2 separate regions of the Homo sapiens genome follow, and region 1 is linked to region 2. Evidence: promoter capture Hi-C in 16 types of primary human blood cells and fetal thymus (Javierre and others, 2016). All regions are on one chromosome and are shown on one strand. The core of a region is centred on a gene start or on the middle of the fragment in contact, and the rest is flanking DNA. Distances in the headings are between cores, read along the strand shown.

The links. The method cuts DNA at HindIII sites, captures the fragments that hold promoters and counts their contacts. A CHiCAGO score of 5 or more calls a contact.
Region 1: a contact is called between a fragment that was not itself captured here and the fragment with the promoter of PSMG1 in region 2, in 7 of 17 cell types (naive CD8 T cells, total CD8 T cells, total B cells and 4 more). The highest score is 9.9, in naive CD8 T cells.

What each region holds. Positions count from the first base shown.
Region 1 is chr21:39,450,222-39,452,921 of GRCh38, forward strand. All of the region lies in intron 8 of GET1-SH3BGR (GET1-SH3BGR readthrough), which reads left to right. It overlaps SH3BGR (SH3 domain binding glutamate rich protein), which reads left to right and starts at 1,749. Exons shown (of 7, transcript NM_007341.3): 1 at 1,749-1,920. The coding sequence starts at 1,876. RefSeq lists an enhancer at 1,191-1,729. The HindIII fragment of the contact is 9,000 bases long and covers 1-2,700 here.
Region 2 is chr21:39,182,168-39,184,867 of GRCh38, forward strand. PSMG1 (proteasome assembly chaperone 1) reads right to left here and starts at 1,284. Exons shown (of 7, transcript NM_003720.4): 1 at 1,085-1,284. The coding sequence starts at 1,218. It also overlaps a transcript of BRWD1 not described here. RefSeq lists silencers at 960-1,039, 1,240-1,459. The HindIII fragment of the contact is 4,125 bases long and covers 1-2,700 here.

The DNA of each region.
Region 1 (2,700 bases), core at 14-2,513, 270 kb after region 2:
TCCTTGGTGTGCTTTAAAATAAAATTTATAATTCTACTGACTTAAATTTGGGGAACCATTAATCATCTTCATCAAGGACCTTATTTTTGGAGCAGCTAACTTTGCATGTTGAAGCCAAAAGTTAAATGTTGGTAGTCACCTCAATCATTCATTGTGATGTAGGGGCATTTAAGCGATATTCCAGGAACTGGGATATTCCGGGGACTGGGATGTCTTTTCTCGTTGCAGGCACCTACCTGAGGGGGTGGGAAACATGCCTCTGGGGCTCTGGGACTCAGGTGAAGAGGGAGTACAGAAGCCTGGGAGATTCCTCTCTGCTTCGGAACGTCGGTGCCACCCAATCCATGATGGGCAGCAGGGGATTTTAAAAAGGGAGCCGGAGAACAGAGAGAGAGAGAGACAGTAAGAGACTCAGTTATCTAAGCTAAATATCCCCCAAGTGCTTCTTGAAAAACTAGCCCTTTGTCCCTAATGCCCTTGATCTTGATTTTGAAATCTATCAGAAGAATTTGCATAACTGGCATTTGGGCTTCTTTGCTAGATTTTGTATTCCTTTAATTTAATTTGTTTGTTTGTTTGATTTGGTTTTGTTTTAGAGATAAGGTCTTGTTCTGTCACCCAGGCTGGAGTGCCGTGGGTGTGATCATAGCTCACTGCAGCCTCAAACTCCTGGCTAAAGGGCTCAAGGGATCCTTCCACCTCAGCCTTCCAAGTCGCTGGAAATACAGATACAGGCGCCTGCCAACATGCCTGGCTGTTTTTTTTTGTGTTATTGTTGTTGGTAAAGTCGTACCTCAGTATGTTACCCAGACTGGTCTTGAACTTCTGGGCTCACACAATCCTCCTGCCTTGACCTCCCAAGGTGTTGGGATTACAGGTGTGAGACACTGCCCCGGACCTTCTCTAACTTTTAACACAATTCAAAATACCTATATAAATATTAACATGTATAAACACAAATATATATAAATAAACACAAAATACCTATGTAAACAAAGAGCCTGTTATAAACAGATTATTTTGGTTTTTTCCCCAAGCACTTTAAAATAGTTAATAAACTTCAAGTCAGTGACAAGTAAATAAAATAGTGAGACAATTGGCTTGTTGCAGCCATGAGTATTGAGAAGCCAGCGGCTATTTCCCTACCTCCCTGGATGTCAGTGAAACTTTAGATGGCCCATGGCTGGTCAGTTTCTGTTCTTTAGGAGAAACAGGTGGGAAAGAGAGCACACTGGAAACAGCCACTCTTAAAGGCATTTCTATTGTATGACAGTTTACTTAAAAAATTTTTTTTAACCTGCCAGGAAAAAAAACAAAGTTGCTCTTTACTTAAAGGCCTCTGTGGCTATTCTGACCCTTCCAGTTTATTTGTTTGCCAAAAGCCCTTTAAACCCAGCCTCCTCCTAGACTGAGGTGGTGTTTTCTGGGCTTTTCCAGCTCCCAAGAGCTCCTCCCTCACTTCTTTCGCCTCCTGCTGCTCTGTTACCGGGGCCCCACCTCCCTTGGCCCCAAGGCATCTCTGCACAGGTCTCCGATTGGTGCACAGCACAGCCTGGCCTTTTAGGGACTGTTGTCGCGCGTTTAAAGTGATAGGGAAAGGGTCCAGTGGCTGCTTTTATCGACCAATCAAATATTTTCCTGACAGATCCCAAAATATTCCTGGGCCAATGGAGGGAGGAGCCCAAGATGCCTCTGCTGCTCCTTGGAGAGACAGAGCCTCTTAAGTTGGAGCGGGACTGCCGGAGCCCAGTGGACCCCTGGGCTGCTGCCAGCCCCGACCTGGCACTTGCTTGCCTGTGTCACTGTCAGGATTTGTCTAGCGGCGCATTCCCTGACAGGGGTGTGTTGGGGGGAGTCCTCTTTCCAACTGTCGAAATGGTTATCAAAGTGTTTGTTGCTACATCTTCTGGGTCCATAGCGGTAGGTGTCTGGTGGACTCTTTCTTCCTATACTCTTTTCTGAATAACTTAGGGTTGGAAATATGGCCAACGTTGGCCTTCAGTTTCTTTTTTGCGTGTAGTCAGCTGTGGCTCTGCAATAAGTATGTGCGCCCTTTGCTTTCTGCATTTGATTTCATAGTGTTGAAAAAGCATGGAAAGGGTGTAATCTGGATGGCTGGGTGTGAAAAGGGATTCGAGTAAGGAGGCGTGCTTGACACTAGAATTTTTAACATGTGATTTGTGTTGTGTTGCCTTGTGAATATCATAGAAGCAGGGACTTTTTTGTATGTGTTTCTGCCATTCATTCTGCAAGGCTTAAACTAATTTAAAATTGTAAATAAATGATACTTTGTGTAACACTGTTTGGAGCGGATGATGAACCAGATTGCTAAAATGACTCTGGGGTGTAATCACTTGTATATGCCATGTAATGATGTAACCATACTGAAAGTGTAAAGTTAGCATGTGTAATCCATTGTTTGAGGAAAGTGATGTCACAGTGACCAGAGCAGACATCTCTCAGGCCACAGTTATAAACACTCCAGGCATTCAGACGGCCCCAAAATAAGAGCTGAAAGCCGACCTTCATAACCAGTGCTTTGTCTAATTTTCTTGAGACCATCTACCTCTTCAATTCTGGCCTTCATTCTGTGCAAGCTGGACCTGCCGTAAGAAATAGGGGTGATGAAGTGACACATTTCTCTTTGGAAATGGGTCAGACTTTGATTTTAGGCTTGAACCTATATAGTGTCTGTCTGTC
Region 2 (2,700 bases), core at 34-2,533:
ACAGAAAGCACCACTTAGTAGAAGCATTCTTGCCGACAAAACTTTGAATGAGAATCTGACCAAGCCTCCAAATGAACATTCATTTTACAGGACATGCAGGTGATACAAACGTTAAGTGACACCACAACGAAGCTATCAGACAAATTCAGAGTGTGGGGGCACTGGACAAGACAATCAGTCCTGTCTCTTAGGAGGGGTAAGAGGAGGTTGCTCTAAATGAAGTGACACGTCTAAATGTAACCTGTGGACCCTGTTAGGATTCTCATTCACGCAGACCACTGTAAAATGTCATGTTTGAAAAAACTAGGTAAACGTGAGTGAGCATGGACTACAAAATGATACTGGAAAATTAGTATTAGTGTTGTTAGGGGTGATAATAGCATATGTAAGAAAATCCCTAAAACGTTTGAGATGTATTCTGAAAAATGTAGAGGTGAAAGGCCATGATGACTGGAATTCGCTTAGGAGTGGCGGGAGAGAAAATAAACGTGGCAAAATCTTCCTGTTGAATTTACCCGGTTGTGTAGGGGTCAGGGCTCACTTGACTATTTTCTCCCACTTTTTTGTGTTTGGAAACAATTTTTTTAAAGCGTGTTCATCGGCTACTGACACATCATGCTAATTGAAGTGTTGGGTGCAGGTTTAAAAAGTTTCGAGGGAATTGGTGTGTCCGTGAACAATCCACGACAAACGTGGTGGGGCCCGCGGGAGCGCTGCGGCCCAAGACAGTGTGACAAGCGGGAAGATCACGAGTCCGCAAGACACCAAGCCTCCAGAAATGCTCCAGAAACGCTCCAGAAAGCCTTTAAAGAACGGATTTGAACCCAGCCCTCCCACAGCGGCTTCACCCTGGACTCCACGAAACGCCAGCAGATCCACGCGAGAACCACACACACCTGGGGCTGGCGCCGCTGGACGCCGCGGCTTCACGGAGACCCAGGGCCCAAGCAGAGCCAAGGAGCGGCGGCAACCGCGGGGGCCACTCGGAAGACCGCGGAGCCCCGGCCTTAGGCGCCGTCGCGGCTGCCAGGCCCGCGCACCTTCCAGCTGCGGTGAGCGCGCTGCCCTTATCCCGGTGCCTCACCTCTTCCGCGCCAGCTGCAGACGCACCTCCCTGTCCTCGGGCGTCTCCCTCCGCCCCTCCTCCTCCTCCTCTTCGTCCTCAGTCCCAGCTCGGCACGGCGCCTTCACCACCTCTCCGAAGAACGTGGCCGCCATAGCCGCCCCGTGACCGGCTGGACACAACTGCAGCGCCGCGGGACCGCACGCCGGCTTGCGCGAGACCACGCTCCCTCACCGCGCGGGCAATAAGTCCCGCCCCGCACAGGCCACGCCCTCCGCGCACAGCCCAAGCTCGCGGCCACACCCCCACCGCGCGGGCGCTACGTCCCGCCCCGCACAGGGCTCGCTCCCAGGCACACCCTGAGCTCGCGGCCACGCCCTCTACACCGCCCGCCCGCGCTGTCATGCCCTGGGCCAGCAGTCCCCGCAGCTTTTTTGTTTTTAAATTACAGATTGGGGGAGGGGGTCTCGCTATGTTGCCCAGACTGGTCTCGAACTCCAGGACTCTAGCGATCGTCCTCCTTAGACCTCCCAAAGTGCTTGGATTACAGGCCTCAGCCACCGCGTCCGGCCCCCAAAGGCTTTCATTCGCAGCTTGAGCCCTGCGGGCGCCAGGAGGTGGGAGGACTGCGGGCTAGAGGGGCAGGGGGCGAGAGGAGGGCGGGGCCTCCGTTCGTGGCGGTAGCGGAACCAGGGGTGCAGGGGCGGAGCCAGCGCCGCTGGCCGTGGCGTCCGGGAGCTGTGGGGCCGTCCCCTCATCGTCCGTTTCCATTTTCCTTCTGCGTTAGGAGAGACTGGGGTAGCATTAGTGTACTGAGCACCCGCTCCAAATTTCGACTGCCCAGGTAGGTGGCGGCGCGGTGGTACTGAGGGCCCCCGTAGCCAGGCGCGCCCTCAGACAGCGGGCACGGGCGGACGCAAGGGCAGCAAGAAATACAGCGCTTCGTGGTGGTATAAAAACGAGACCTTTACTCTGGCAATAGGAATTCACATTTCAAAAGCTGATGATTGTCAAGGCGATTTAAAAAACATTTTTATGAGTGTAAAAAATAGTGTTTTAAAGTTGGCCATTTTCTAATACAAAATGTTTCTTTTTAAATAGCCTTTAATAAGCAGAATGTGTGATTGTTCTTTAATTGGTTCTCTTTAAAATGTGCTGGAAGACAAAGTTCGAGGAGCACTGTTTCAAGCAAGAGAAAAAGGGGACATAATTTAAATGAAAATGAAAATATGCAGTAATGCAATGAAAAAACCGTTTCCTAGATTTAGTTGTACCGAAATACATGACATCGCCTGCATTTTGTGACTTTGTCAGTAGTCACGAAGGTAAGTACTACTTTGGGGTCAGAGAGAGCCTGTTGAGATAAAATCTCAAAGCTGTTAGAAACATTTTAAGATGTGGAAAGATAATCAACAAAATCATTTACATAAAATTAGTACTTAGCAGATGTACACATCTGCAAAAATAAAGTGAGTTTGGAAGCAAAATTTGAACATTTAGCAATAAAATTAAGACGAAATTGCTAGCCAGTAAGAGCTTAGGAAACTGGATATCCTTAGTGAGATAGAATAAACAAGATCACCACAATGATGTTTTAAAACATTAGGACTCCTGGGTTAACTGGTCTATTATGATGA